Linked DNA regions of Homo sapiens: region 2 is linked to region 1. Evidence: promoter capture Hi-C in 16 types of primary human blood cells and fetal thymus (Javierre and others, 2016). All regions are on one chromosome and are shown on one strand. Each heading gives the region's core, a stretch centred on a gene start or on the middle of the fragment in contact. The rest is flanking DNA. Distances are from core to core; before and after follow the strand shown.

Evidence for each region. Contacts are between HindIII fragments. The CHiCAGO score rates a contact against its expected background, and 5 or more counts as called.
Region 2: a contact is called between a fragment that was not itself captured here and the fragment with the promoter of GORASP1 in region 1, in 8 of 17 cell types (activated CD4 T cells, total CD8 T cells, total B cells and 5 more). The highest score is 9.0, in activated CD4 T cells.

What each region holds. Positions count from the first base shown.
Region 1 is chr3:39,103,198-39,110,851 of GRCh38, forward strand. It overlaps GORASP1 (golgi reassembly stacking protein 1), which reads right to left and starts at 4,430. Exons shown (of 9, transcript NM_031899.4): 1 at 4,282-4,430; 2 at 276-356. The coding sequence starts at 4,344. TTC21A (tetratricopeptide repeat domain 21A) reads left to right here and starts at 4,483. Exons shown (of 29, transcript NM_001366900.1): 1 at 4,483-4,667; 2 at 5,888-6,017; 3 at 6,832-6,942; 4 at 7,654. The coding sequence starts at 4,641. RefSeq lists enhancers at 1-284, 1-12 and a silencer at 4,060-4,379. The HindIII fragment of the contact is 2,080 bases long and covers 3,393-5,472 here.
Region 2 is chr3:39,396,877-39,404,530 of GRCh38, forward strand. SLC25A38 (solute carrier family 25 member 38) reads left to right here. Exons shown (of 7, transcript NM_017875.4): 7 at 1-475. Among named protein-coding and RNA genes, the nearest start is that of RPSA, 6.0 kb to the right of the region's middle. RefSeq lists an enhancer at 7,187-7,654. The HindIII fragment of the contact is 499 bases long and covers 2,384-2,882 here.

The DNA.
Region 1 (7,654 bases), core at 3,180-5,679:
TCATATCCCTCATGCCCCAGGAGGCAGGCCCCTTGGGCCTTGTTGCCACCTCCAAGAGGCCATATGTCCTCTGTCCACCCCACAGAGCTCAGAAGCTGAGCACTGGGCAGGGCCCCAGTCAGGCTCTGAGTACAGCCCTGGAAGAAGGGGAGACAGGGCTGGGACTCCCTTTAGAAAAAAAGGGAGGGAAGGGTAGACTGGGGCCCCCTGTGGGACAGATGAAGACACACAAACACACATAAGCAAGCAAAGCAGAGGCAGGTTGGGGAACTCACCAGCCTCGAGTGCCCAATGGTGATGATGAAGTCAAAGTAGGGCTCCAGGCCCGCCTGCTGGGCTGGGGAGTTCTCCTGCACCTATCCCACAGCAAAGACCACAGTCACTGCGCCAACCCTGGGACTCTCCAAGTAGCCCTCTCCCCCATTTCAGGAACCATCAGCACTCCCAGTGTGCCAGCCAGAACACATGTCTGGCATGAACTGTTCCGGACATTCTCAGGGTTCACTCCATGGCCTCTTGCTACCTTCCTGGGCACAAATTTTCCTCTTAGGAAAATGGCTCCTTCCTGATTATGATCCACAGATGCTTTCAGAAATGGCTCACAGCCCAGGACATCCTTAGGGGCTCCCAGGAGGCAATATGGAGACAGGCTGGCCCAGGCCTGTGGGAATGCTGCTCTAGAGGGCTAGGCTAGGGTTGGCCGGAAAGCCAAAAGGGTTTACCAGAAAGGTTTAGACTGGACCAGAAGGGAGGGCCCTGACGTGCAGTGGAAGTGGGCAGGCCTCGGGAGGGATACACCCAGGGCTGTACCCAGAAAGAGGGAGTGGGAAAAGCAGCTTGCAGCCAGGTCCCAGCTTGCACCCCAGCCTCTGGGGTGGGAGACCCAGGCTCAGTCCAGCAGGTAATGAAAGCCACTGGCAGAGAAGCAGACCCCAGGGGTAGAACTAGGCCTGAGCCAGGGAGCCCAGTGAGTGGGCAGTGCCAATCCCCACAGCCTGGCTCTGGACTGAGGAGCCCCCCAGTGGCTCAGCTGCCCTACCAGCCTCATAGTGTAGCCTCCATGCCTGTGCAGGACACCTCCTCCAGGAAGCATTCCCATTTCCAGGGTGCTCCCTGCCCCTCCCTGAACTCCCCACCTCACTGCTGTCTCCAAAAGCACAACAACCAGGCTTTGCAGGCTGTGGCAGAAATCCATCCCAAAAGCCCCATATACAGAGCCTGGCTTAAACAATGCAGGCTTTGTCCCAAGGCCCTAGACCCGAAGATGGGCCCACACCCTCAGGTCTTTGGCTGCGGGCATTTGATAACCTGTTGGCGTAGACACCAGCCAGACCCAGCCCAGAGGGCACAGGACCTAGGCTCTTGCTGCCTCCTCATGGGAAAGGCCCTGTGGCTCCTGCTACATACCAGCCCCTCCAGGTTTGGATTCCCCAACCTGAAGGAGAGCTCATGAAGACTAGGCTGAGAACAAACCGCTGAGATCAAGGCCAGTTTGCCCCTGGAATTAGGATTCCCTTCTGGCAGCATCACCAACTGAGCCCCTCCTTATCACCTCCAGAAGCTGCCATGGCTTCCAAAGGGAGTGAGTGCGGCCCAGAAATCAGATCTGGGCCTAGTTGGCCTGGCCCAGTAGGCAAGCTGCTCCCAGGCCCCGCTGCAGGGGAGCTCTGGGCCCTGCCCTCTAACCCTTCAGGTGAGGGGATCTTTCGAAAACCACAGGACAGGACAGTTATTCAGGAATAGCTTGGGGACAATGCCCCTCCCTAATCAGGGCCACCTCCAAATCACTCCACGTCAGGTGCCTGCCTACTTCCCTCCCCACTCCCCAGTATTGCATGTCAGCTGCTCTCCATCATGAATGAGGTCCAGAGGGTCAGGCCCCAGGCCTGGCCTCCTTGACCCACCCAATACCTCCACCACCCTCTCCTGTGGCTTTGTCCTCTGCTTGGCTACACTCCACTTCTCTCACCTGGGGCCTCATCACTACTCACTATGGCTCCGCAGCTGAAATAATCTATGCTGCTGCCCACTGTACGGCTCCCCCTGCAGAAACCACTGCCTGCCATCCAGCTCCCTCAGGGGCTCCCATCACAGCCTGCCCCAAGGCCCTATAGTGCTGCTTTTCCTCATGCTCCCACCCTATTTTTCCCAATCAGGGAACCTAATGGAACTCACAGTGATCACAACTTACACTTACTAAGGGCTGGTTGGCTGAGTGCCAGGGCATGGCACCACCTCACCTGCTTTATGTGTCATTTAACCTTTTTAATAACCTCAAATGACAAATGAGACCAAGTACTCAATAATTCAGTAATTTGACCCCAGGAAATCCAACCCAGAGCCCTCCCCCTAACCACTGCCCTCTCCTAACAGCTGTTTCCTGGTGAATCTGCCACTACTCTAAGCTCGCTGAGGGCAGCGACTTCTCCAAAGTATTGGGCACGCAGCGAGGTGCCAATATTTCTAGAATGCAGCACAGCTGTTCTTCAGTGTTGTTAAAGGTAAGTAGGTCATGTCACTCCTCCATTTAAAACCTCCTGATGGTTTTACATCTCAGAATAAAATCTTAAATCTTCAGGACAACAGGCAAGGTCCTACACGGTCTGCTCTGGTCTCCTCCTCACACTGGCCACACCATCCAAGCACACCAGCCTCACCTGGCATTTCCTCAAACACACAAGCACAACCTACCTCGGGGCCTCTGCACAAGCTGGTCCTTCTGCCTGGAATACTACTATTCCCCTAAATATCTGTATTGTCCACTCTTTACTTCCTTCAGAAGCATCTGTTCGAATGTGACTTGAGAAGAGGCCCTTCCTGACCACTCTATCAAAAATAGCACCCACTCACCATTCTGTATCCCCTTAACCTGCTTTATTTTTATCACTGGTAATTACCACCTACCATGTATTTTTTCATTTCCCTTCTTTCCCTACCATCATCCAAATGTCAGCTCCAGAACAGGGACCATGTTTGTTCTGTTCACTGCTTTATCTCTAGAGCCTTAGAATTCTGCCTGCCAGAGTAGGAGCTCAAAACTTTGTTTTTGTGACTGACAACCTCTGATCCCTGGTCCCTCTCCAATTTGTCCCTCTCCATCAGGCAGGCCCCTCCCGTCTTCGAAGCTCCCATCATCGCCCCACCCCTCCTCTTGCCAATATCCTGAGTTCCTTTGCCTTTAATCAAACCTGTTGGAAGACGCTCCTGGCTGGATGCATTCCACTGTCCACGCTTGCTGTTTGGTGTCTCACCATAAGAAAGCCCATTCCCAAGCACAAATCCTGTCAACTCTGGGTTCTCCAAGCCAGCCTGGTTTTCACGTTAAGAAACTTTTAGCCCTCTCATGTGGTTAGCTGGCAACAGACCCTACCTTCAAAACACACAAACCGACAAGCTTGCCTGTCTCCACTCATCTCTGCATCCAGCTGCCTTTCACTAGGGAAAGGGGGGGTGCAGGGACGCCTCTTCCCCGCAGCGCTCCGGGGTCAGAGACCCCCAGCCCCTCTCACCTACATTATAGCCCTTCCCTCACCGCAGGCACAAATCTCCATCCGGCTGCGGGACCCTCTCCTCACCCTCACAGCACACTCCGTTCTAGGAACCCCACTCCGTCTCCACTCTCCGGAAGCCTGCTCGCCCAGACCTCCATGTAGCGGCATCTAAAGGCTGGGACCCTCCCCAGCTGCAAACGCTCTCCTCGAGGATTCTGCAGCACTCTCCCGGCCCTCCCGCTCCCCACTATCCCGTGGCTGGTTTGCACCGGTCCTCTACCCTCGGAAGCCCTTACGACCCTACGACTGGCAGGACGCGCGCCGACGGGCTCCCCCGCAGCTGCGTCCACTCGGTTAACCCCGGCCCCCGGGACTGTCCTCGGCGTGGCTGACTCTCTTCCCAGGCCCAGCACGGAGAGCGGCCCGCGGCAGGCGAGCGTAAATGTGTGCTAAGTGCACGAGTGCGTCCCGACTGGTAGTGGTGCATTCTTCACCCGGGAGGAGCGCCATTCCCGGCGGCCGGACCAGGAAAACGCTCCGCTTCCGGCACTGCTGGCACTTGGGGCGGGCGCTGGGCCCGACCGCGGCCGCGGACTAGCCAGGGTCCGGGAGTCCCGCGAGGCCGCCTCTCCCAGGAGGCTCCCACCGGGCAGGGGGCACCTCCCGCCACCCAGGCGGAAACACTCGGGCCGGGACCCCGCCGCAGTCGCCAGCCAGCCGGCGACCGGACGCCCGGGCGCGGGGTTGCGGGCGCCTCGCCAAGGTCACCGGCGCCGCGGCGGCAACTCACCCCGTGGAGGTGGAAGCCCTCGGCGCCGCCTGCGGGCTGCTCAGCGCTGACGCCCAGGCCCATGGCAGCGGCTCCGCTCGGCACCCAGGTCCAGTCCCGCTGCGCCTACCCGGACCGACCCGACGCCAGTAGCACCGACTCGCTCTCTCGGCGCTCGATTCCTGCGCCTTGTGACGTGAGGCGTTTTGTTCCTCCCACTCCAGACACTGGACGCTCCTAGCAACCGGCTAGCAGCTCGGTTTCCAAGGACTGTAACGCCTTCAACCGCCCGCCGCGATAGAGTGCCCACGACCCTGCCTCGGGAATCCCGCTCTGCACCGCCCCACCAGACCCGGACTCGGAGCCGCGAGCGGCCCGAGATGAGCAGCAATGACTCCTCCCTTATGGTGCGTGGCCCGGGCGCTGTCCGAGGGCTCCCTCGTGACTCCCCGCCCCTGACCCAGAGACCGTCTGCCCTGCTACTCTCCTGCCACCCTTCGCTGTCCTCAGTTATATCAGGCGGTCCTGCCTTTTCTTGCCCCACTCCCCCTGGCAAGGGCGTCTTCTCCGGTGGCTTCTGCGCACCCTGAGCCCCAAATTAGCATCCCCGTTTCTTGAGCTACCCCAAACCAGCTCATCCAATCACTATCATTATCCCTTCTTGTCATCATCCCTTCTTCCACCCAGCTCACTCTCGCCTGCGCCTCCCACCCCAGTTGATGGCTTCACCATTTAATCTCCTAGCCTTAACTCATACCTCTTCCCTATACTCATCTTCTAATCCTGTCTACAAGAAATGCCAGCTCCTTGATGTCTCCTGGGTTTTCTTTTTATCTTTTTATCTTCTAGCCCAGAACCAGCACCATCTCTCCCCCCTGAGAGCCTGCAACAGCCTCCCTCCCATCTGGTTTCTCTGCTGTGGCTCTTTTCAGCATCAGTAGTCCCTGCTGCCACCACGGCACACACCCCCCACATGCAAAAGCAGCCAGAGTGGTTGTTGCAAAAATGTACATCTGAAAACATCCCTCGCCTTAAAACCATTCTGCTTTCTGTTACCCTTAGGATGGTGTCTGGGCTCTTTCATATGGCCCATGAGGATGTTTACAGTCCAACCACATCTGCTCCCAACCTAGCACCCACAAACCTTAGAGGAAGTGAAACTTAACTTTAAAATCTCAGCCCCTTTGTCAAGCTGTAGTTTCCATGGGCTTAAGCTTCCTTAGCTGTGAAAGATACTGAGAGGACCATGCACAGGATAGTGGATATGAAGCCCACAATAACTTGTAACTACAATTCGTATAATTTTTCTTATTATTTGTCCTCATTTTTCCCCCCTTATTCCCTTCCTAAGACAAAGCCTTGGTTGAATTCCCCATCATAGTTGAACCAGAATCTGTTGGTAATCCCCCAAACAAACACCTCCAAACTCTTTCCTGGGAAAACTGCATGGAGCTGCTCCCAGGGCTGTTAGAGGACAGGATGAGGCCTGAATGTTTCCTCTTTCTCTTCCCTTTGCAGAACTGAGGAGGAGCAGGGGATAGGGAAGGGAGCAGGTCTCATCCCATCTGGGACAGAACAGAGACAGAGAAGGGACTGGGCTATTGCAGTTATGTCTTCCTTCATACAGGCTGGGATCATTTACTATAGCCAGGAAAAGTACTTCCACCATGTGCAGCAGGCTGCAGCTGTGGGCCTGGAAAAATTCAGCAATGACCCTGTGTTGAAGTTCTTTAAAGCCTATGGAGTCCTCAAAGAAGGTAAGGACTTGGCAGTGTTGGTCTTGTGACCCCAGGCACTAGCTGGGCCCTAACACTCTGGCTCCACCTGGATGCCTTCTTGTATCCTAGTTATGGTCCCATAAAAACAGTTTCACACTCAGCGGCTGGATTCCCACGGGAATCCACAGAGGCCTACGTAATCCATATCTAGTTGACTTTTGAGACCTCAGAGCGCTGACTATCCCTGCTCTGCACCTCGGGTTCCCTCTCTGTAAAATGAGTGGTTGGAGAGATAGCTGCATGATTCTTGAAGTAATTCCAGGCCTGGAAGCTGAGAACTGGTAATGCAGGCAAAGGAGGGGGAAGAGGTAGGTGTGAGGACAGGTGGGTATGGTACAGGTACAGGGAGAGGAGTGAGACCCATGCAGGTGCAGATGGGCTGACATTCAGAAGGTGGTCCTAGGCTGAGGACTGGCAGAATAGCCCATGGCCAAATGTCTGAGGACATGGAGGGATAAATGTAATCAGTGGCTCTTGAGCAGTAGCTGAGAATGCCCTGCCTGAGGTCCTTCTTCAGAACTGACGCAGCTAATAATTGCAGCCTCACACATATCCCCACAAGTACTCACAGGGTGAACCTTTCAAGTCCAAGATTTCCAGCCCCTAACAGCCTGGACCATGTTACCAGCAACTCTTTCAAAGAGCCCCAATCTTCAGGGAACTTGGGTCACTGGGGACCTTTCAGACCAGTTAGTCCAGCAGGTAGTAGTGCTGAGCTGTTGGGTCAGCTACAGAGTCTCATGTCCTCTAGTCCTGGAGCTTGAGAGTATAACTATGTGGACTGTCTTTGCAGAGCACATCCAGGATGCCATCAGTGACCTGGAAAGCATCAGGCATCACCCAGACGTGTCCCTGTGCTCCACCATGGCCCTCATTTATGCTCACAAAAGATGTGAAATCATTGGTGAGTGCCACCATGCTCAACCAGGCCTGACCCACCAGGGGAAGGAAAGCCCTGCCCCAGAGATAACACAGCCCCTCAAGGGCTGCCAAAGGAGGTATGTGCCCTGGTGGCTGTGCAGATGCTGTTAACCAGTGAGAAGTGGCTGCTGCTCCTCTCCCCCTGGAGGCCTGGGAGAAGACTCCATGCCTGGGCCCAACTGAGTGGAAGCAGGCAGAGCCCATGACAGTGGGAGGGGCCCATGCTCCAGATCCCAAGAGTTGGGGAAACACCCTTCTTCTTTGCCAAGATCTTGTCAGAAAAACCAAGCCAATATATATAATTCTACCCCTAATCTCCACATTTCTAGAGTCAGGGAGAGGGTCCAAGAGAGACTACAGACTACTATTTCCCTACTCACAATAAGTTGTGGGCCTGAGGCTAAGGATTTTGGTTTGGCCTGCCTGCTCAGCACACTGCTGGGCACAGAGAAGAGAAGGTAATCTCAGACAGCACACGTGAGTCCACACCAGGGCAGCCCCTGCAGCATCTCAAGGGCAGGTACTGCTGGTTTCCAGGCCTTGGGCTGCATGCGGTGTGCTGCATATGTTGAAGGAGATCCACAGTGTCTGGGGGAGACCCCGAGGTAGTTCCCTGGGCCCTCGGTGGCCCATGCAGAACCAGGCAGACTTCCACATCCTAACTCTCCCTCTTCCTTCGCTCTTGGATTTACAGA
Region 2 (7,654 bases), core at 1,383-3,882, 290 kb after region 1:
AGCAATCACAAAGCCAGAGAAGCTGTAAGCTGCCTGCCGGGCCTGAGGAGCTCCAACCAGGGAAGACTGGATGTGAGGAGAGGAGTCACTGTCACCAGGTCACAGACTGACTGAGGTGATGGTAGGATGAGGAGGAACAGATGCCCTTCTTTAATTGGTTCTCAGTTAACTTCTCAGAGGCTCTGGAGAACGGGACAGTGGCTTTCTAGCCTCTGAATGTTCCAAATAAAATTTTTTGGTCTTGGCCCCTGTACTGTTTTACCTCTAAATTCTGGCATTTTTTTTTCCCTGCAATTAAAGTGCTGTACTTTATTTATTGAACTTTATCATTGAAAGCTGTTTGGAAAACCTAAAAGATGTTGTCACACTTCTGTTTTCTTTACCTGTGCCTTATAAAAATGGACCAAACCCTTTTCTAAAATAAAATAGTTCTAGGGTGGCTGGTTATTGACCTATGTAGGTCCCTAAAACCTAATTTCTGTTCAAAAAAGCAGCTTTACTGAATGATGCAACCATCACTATAAATCAGTTTAAGAACATTTTTATTCCCCAAACAGATCTCTCATGCCTTTTGTAATTAATCCTCATTCTCAGCCCCAGGCCACCACTGATAGGCTTTCTGTCTTCATAAATTTGCCTTTTCTGGATACTTCATATAAATGCAGTCTGTAGGCCGGGTGCGGTGGCTCAAGCCTGTAACCCCAGCACTTTGGGAGACCGAAGCGGGTGGATCACATGAGGTCAGGAGTTCAAGAGCAGCCTGGCCAACATGGTGAAACCCCGTCTCTACTAAAAATACAAACATTAGCTGGGCGTGGTGGCATGTGCCTGTAATCCCAGCTACTTGGGAGGCTGAGGCACGAGAATCACTTGAACCGAGGAGGCAGAGGTTAAAGTGAGCTGAAATCATGCCACTGCACTCCAGCCTGGGTGACAGAGTGAGACCCTGTCTCAAAAAACAAAAAAACAAAGTGACTATACCATTTTCCATTCTCAGCCACAGTATATGAGAGTTCCAATTTCTCCACATCCTTGTCAACACTTGTTATTATCTCTTTTATAGCTATTCTTATTGTGCACTCAAATCTTTTCTTGAAAATTCAGGAAAGATGGCCAGGCAAGGTGGCTCCTGCCTGTAATTCCAGCATTTTGGGAGGGTGAGGCAGGCAGATTACTTGAGGCCAGGAGTTCAAGATCAGCCTGGCCAAAACAGCAAAACCCCATCTCTACTAAAAATACAAAAATTAGCCAGGCATCGTGGGGCACGCCTGTAATTCTAGCTACTCAGGAGGCTGAGGCAGGAGAACCACTTGAACCCAGGAGATGCAGGTTGCAGATCACACCACTGCCCTCCAGTCTGGATGACAGAATGAGACTCCATATCAGAAAAAAAAAAATCAGGAAACAGCCATTACTTTATACAAGAAGCACAAGTTGGGGGGATATTTAGTCTTGTGGTTAAGAACATGGGCTCTAATCCAGGCAGCCCAGGTTGAAAGCTGCTTGCTCTCCACTACCTAGGCATGGCACTGAAACTATGCCTAGGAAATGGGGTTAGTTTGTTTTGGGGGTTTTTTAGGGGGCGGAGAACAAAGTGTCGCCCTGTTGCCCAGGCTGGAGTGCAATCGTGCAATCTCAGCTGACTGCAACCTCCACTCCTGGGTTCAAGCAATTCTCCCACCTCAGCCTTCCAAGTAGCTGGGACTACACGCTGGGCTAATTTTTTGTATTTTTAGTAGAGACAGGGTTTCACCATGCTGGCCAGGCTTGTCTTGAACTCTTGATCTCAAGTGATCCACCTGCCTCAGCCTCCCAGAGTGCTGGGATTACGGGTGTGAGCCAGCGCCCCCAGCCGGAAATAGGGTTAGTAATGTTTCCTGCCTCTTCAGGTGGTGGTGAGGGTTAATTAATAAATGTTTCTGAAATGTGGTATTAGCTTCATAGGACAGCCACAACAAGTTACCACAGTCAGAATGGTTTATAACTCAATCTGGAGGCCAGAAGTCTGAAATCAATGTGTCAGCAGCATTGCACCTCTGAAGGCTCTAGGAGAGTCATGCTTTGTCTGTTGCACCTTCTAGTGGTGGCTAGCATTCCTTGGCTTGTAAAAACATCACTCTAATCTCTGCCTGTCTTCACATGCCTTTTCCCTTGTGTATCTGTTTCTCTCTATGTTAGACCCTATTTCCAAATAGGGTCACATTCGCAGGTATTAGGGGTTAGAACGCCAATATATCTTTTGGGGGGACACAATTCAACCCACAACACAGATTAAGCTGATGTATAAGTTAAAATCAGTTTATACTTTAGGCTTTAGGTTAAAACACCATATTTAAAATAGTAATTTGGGTAGGGGTGTGGGAGAGGATGAAGCAGGGTCCTAAGCTTACAGTGGCACCCAAGCCTCCAATGCTGTGACCTGTGTGTTGTGAGGCCTCGTGCTGTAGGAAGCAGGGGAGAGGTCAGGATGGGAAAGGAGAGAAGGGAGGGACAGTTGGATGGAGTGGCTGCTTCCTAAGAACTTAGACTCTGGAGTAGGTGTTCCATGTCCCTTGCCTCCTCAGCCTCCTTTGACCCTCATCCTGAGTGCAGGGAACCTAATGCCAGTGAGGACTCTTAGGGAGGAGGGGCAGAGATAAGGCCGAGAGAGTTGGGCTTCTTCCCAATGCGAATTTCCTGGCCTCACATTGGCAGATGAATTTCTGCCACCAGATTCCCCCTCACATTTTCTTCATTTGTTTTTTAGGGGAGCAAATAAATATGATAAAATCAGGAGAAATCATCTAGTTTTCTCTAAACATGAGGTAGAAAATTTGTCTTTGTGAATCTCGAGTCCTGCGGCAAGTAGCCTGTTTTTTCCTCTCTCACAGTCTCAGTATTAAAGCTTGGAAAGCAATTGGCTAGTGAGCGTTAGCTGGCTTTGGAAGCATTGCCCACTTTTTTTTTTTTTTGAGACAGAGTCTTGCTCTGTTGCCCAGGCTAGAGTGCAGTGGTATGATCTTGGCTCGCTGCAACCTCCGCCTCCCGGGTTCAAGCGATTCTCCTGCCTCAGCCTCCCAAATAGCTGGGATTACAGGTACCTGCCACCGCGCCCGGCTAATTTTTGTATTTTTTAGTAGAAACGAGGTTTCACCATCTTGGCCAGGCTGGTCTCGAACTCCTGACCTCATGATCCATCCGCCTTGGCCTCCCAAAGTGCTGGGATTACAGGTGTGAGCCACCACATTGGCCTTTTTTTTTTTTTAAATGGTTCCTTCTTGGCTGCCTTAGACTTATTAAAGCACATTAGAGGTGGGGCTCTGTGGGAGAAAAATAGTCAGATGGTGACTAAAGATAAGGCAGTGTAGGGCTAAAGCCAAAAGAAGACACAGAAGCAAAGGTTTCAAGCTGTATTACACTCACTTTCTAAGAATACATGATTATGAAATCTTTCAAGCCATCACAATAGGAAAGCCAATGGTCTACTGGCCCTTCATTCATATCGCTCAGATGGAGCAATTGCCAAGATTTTGCCACACTTGCTTCTCTCCCCTAACTGTGTCCCCTGCTCCTGCCACTCCTTTTTCTTTTTTTTTTCTTTTTTTTTTTTTTGAGACGGAGTCTCGCTCTGTCACCCAGGCTGGAGTGCAGTAGCGCAGTCTCGGCTCACTGCAAGCTCTGCCTCCTGGGTTCACGCCATTCTTCTGCCTCAGCTTCCCGAGTAGCTGGGACTACAGGCGCCAGCCACCACGACTGGGTAATTTTTTTTTATTTTTAGTAGAGATGGGGTTTCACTGTGTTAGCCAGGATGGTCTCGATCTCCTGACCTCGTGATCCACCTGCCTCGGCCTCTCAAAGTGCTGGGATTACAGGTGTGAGCCACCACGCCTGGCCTCCTTTTTCTTTTATGAAGCTTTTAGAGACAGATCCCAGACATCATATAATTTCACCCTTGCTTACTTCAATATGCATCTCTTAAAAATTATGGACTTTTTTTTAACATAAGTATGTCATTACCCCACCTGGAAAAATTTAACACATTTTTTGCATATCATCCATATTCACATTTCCCAGACTGTCCCAACAATGATTTTTTACAGTTGGTTTATTTCAATTAGAATTCAAACAAGGTCCATACAAGGCATTTGGTCTTTTATTGATGTTTTAGAAACAAGGTCTTGCTCGTCACCCAGGATGCAGTGCAGTGGTATGATCATGGTTCACTGCAACCTTGAACTTCTAGGCTCAAGCCATCCTCCCACCTCAGCCTCCCAAGTAGCTGGGACTACAGGTGCACGCCACCACACCCAGCCAGTTTTTAAAAAATTTTTTTGCAGAGACAAGATCTCGCAATGTTGCCCAGGCTGGTCTCAAACTCCTAGCCTCAAGTGATCCTCCAGCCTCAGCCTCCCAAAGGATTGGGATTACAGGTATGAGCCACCACACTTTGCCGGCAGTTGGTTTTGAAAATCTCTAGGCTGGGCACAGTGGCTCATGCCTGTAGGCCCAGCCCTTTGGAAAGCCAAGGCTGATAGATCGCTTGAGCCCAGTAGTTTGAGACCAGCCTAGGCAACATAGTCAAACTCTGTCTCTACAGAAAAATTTAAAAATTTGCCAGGTGTGGTGAGGCACATCTGTAGTCCCAGCTACTCAGAAGGCTGAGGCAGGAGAATCACTTAAGCCCTGAAAGTCAAGGCTGCAGTGAGCCGTGATCAGGCCACTGCACTCCAGCCCAGGTGACAGAGCAAAGCCCTGTCTCAAAAAAAAACCTCTTTATTCCAGGACACCACCATTCTCCCCAATTTTTTTGTTCTACATTGTCTTTGTAGGGACTGAGGGGACGGGGGAACAAGACAAAGTTAGAGGAAACTTGATTCTGAAGCAGTGTCTAAGGCCTCTCTTGGCATATCAAAGGGCTAGTCTTTGAGGTAACACATCCTCAGCCCCAGTATCCTGTAAAATGTCCCATTTTCTGAATTTGTTTTCTGATGGTTTTAGCTCATTTCTGTTTCACACATGTTCTATAAACTGGATGTTACCTTGGATGGCTTGATTACATTTAGGTCTATCCAATTTCTTAGGCAAAGGAAAGACCAGAGCTATAGATTCTAAGTGGTAGAAAGTCTGAAAAGGCATACGAGGGTCTCTCACTTAGCAAATGAGTGAGTGCAAATGAAACGTTCTATTCACTTCATTCAGTTACTTCCTCCCAAGAGAAATGAGGAGAGGCTGAAATTTCTTTAACCAGCAGTTAGAAAGGATAAATAATTTTGAGGCAAACCAAGGTTAGAGTGAGTCAGTTCTGAGGGCCCAATCAAGACAGGGAACCCAGCACTGACTCTGGGAGGTTGCAAAACTGAAACCTGCTCACCAAGGTTATGCCTTATGCCCCTTCCATATACTTCTGGCTGAGCAGTGCATTTATAACTTGTTGGGTTTTTTGTTTTTTTGAGACAGGGTCTCACTCTATTCCACAGGCTGGAGTACACTGGCAATCTCAGCTCACTGCTCTCAGCTCACTGCAGCCTCGACCTCCCAGGCTCAAGCAATCCTCCCACCTCAGCCTCCCAAGTAGCTGGGACTACAGGCATGCATTACCACACCCAGCTAATATTTTTGTATTTTTAGTAGAGACAGGGTTTCGCCATGTTGCCCAGGCTAGTCTCGAACTCCTGGGCTCAAGGGATCTGCCCACCTCAGCCTCCCAAAGTGCTGGGATTACAGGTGTGTGTCATCACGCCTGGCCTTCTAACTTATTGTTGATATTAAATGTAACAACCAGGCTGGGCACGGTGGCTTATGCCTATAATCCCAGCCCTTCGGGAGGCTGAGGCGGGCAGATCACAAGGTCAGGAGTTCGAGACTAGCCTGACCAACATGGTGAAAACCTATCTCTACTAAAAATACAAAAATTAGCTGGGCATGGTGGCACGCGCCTGTAATCCCAGTTACTTGGGAGGCCAAGGCAGGAGAATCGTTTGAACCTGGGAGGCAGAGGTTGCAGTGAGCTGAGATCATGCCATTGCACACCAGAGGGAGACTCTGTCTCAAAAAATAAATAAATACATTTAACAAGCAGCAGGGCACAGTGGGTCACACCTATAATCCCAGCACTTTGGGAGGCCAAGGCCAGTGAGATCACTTGAGGTCAGGAGTTCAAGACCATCCTGGCCAACATGGCAAAGCCCTGTCTCTACTAAAATTACAAAAAATCAGCCAGATGTAGTGGTGTGCACCTGTAGTCCCAGCTATTCGGGTAGCTGAGGCACAAGAATTGCTTGAATCTGGGAGGCAGAGGTTGCAGTGAGTTGCAATTGCACCACTGCACTCCAGCCTGGGAGACAGCAACTCTGTCTCAAAAAAAAAAACAAAAAAAAGAAGAAGAAGAAAAAAAAATTTAACAATCCACTGTGTCTTAAATTTCAGCTTTTGTCACCACTCCCTCCAAAAAAAGGTGCCTCAATGCAACAGCCTCTAGGTAGAACTAGCTTCTAAGTTCTTCTCTGCTCCTGGGAGCCATTAGCTTAGGTAGTCAGGAAATACCCTAGGCCGGGTGCAGTGGCTCATGCCTGTAATCCTAGCACTTCGGGAGGCCGAGGCGGGCTGATCACTTGAGGTAAGGAGTTCAAGACCAGCCTGGCCGACAAAGCAAAACCCTGTCTCTACCAAAAATACAAAAACTGGCCAGATGTGGTGGTGCGGGCCTGTAGTCCCAGCTACTCGGGAGGCTGAAGCTGGAGAATTGCTTGAGCCTGGGAGCAGAGGTTGCAGTGAGCTGAGATCACACTACTGCACTCCAGCCTGGGTGACAGAATGAGACTGTCTCAAAAAAAAAAAAATTACATAAAATAAAGAAGAAATACTCTAGAGTCTAGGATCGTGGTTTTTAAACTCAATATGGCTGCACATTGGAATCATCTGGAAAATGTTGGGGCTCAGAAAATGATACCCCTGACTGAATAAGGCACTTTGGCATGCTGCATGCTTTGAATTAAAGAAAATTGAAAGGCTTCTGAAATAGCGTCAGAACCAAGGTTTCTTTCTGACCTTCCCCTAACCCCATCTCTCAATCCCCTTTTCCCAAAGCATCCGGAGGGGCTTTGTCTGAAGTTCCCTTATCTGAATAAGGTAGGTTCCTCCAGAATAAAATACAATAGTCTTAAAACTTCCTCCCTAAGAATCTCATCAGGTAACCAGGAAATATTAACCACTGGGAAGAGAAAAGACTAAAAGTCATCACCATGCCCAGACAGACTCTTCATCTATTTTTCTGAGGGCAGCTTTTGAGAGATTTTCCAGGAGACATTATTTGCCTAATAAGGCAACCTTTGGTCACAGTGAAGTTCCTCCCCTTACCCTTTGCTGCTGTTTCCCCCAGAGCTCACAGGAACTTTGTCTCAGGCAAATTTTCTGTTCTTTGAACTCATTCCTATCCTTCCAAAAATCACTTACTAGCCCTCTAAATTGTTTACCATCCCATCTCCCTTCCCTGTGAAGTAGATGCTATTTAAGCTTCAGCCATCTGGCCCTTCTTTGAGTCTTATATTTCGTGTGGCTCCTGTGCATAAGCACATTAATAAATGTGTATGTTTGGCCTGGTGTGGTGGCTCACGCCTGTAATCCCAGCACTTTGGGAGGCCGAGGTGGGCAGATAACCTGAGGTCAGGAGTTCAAG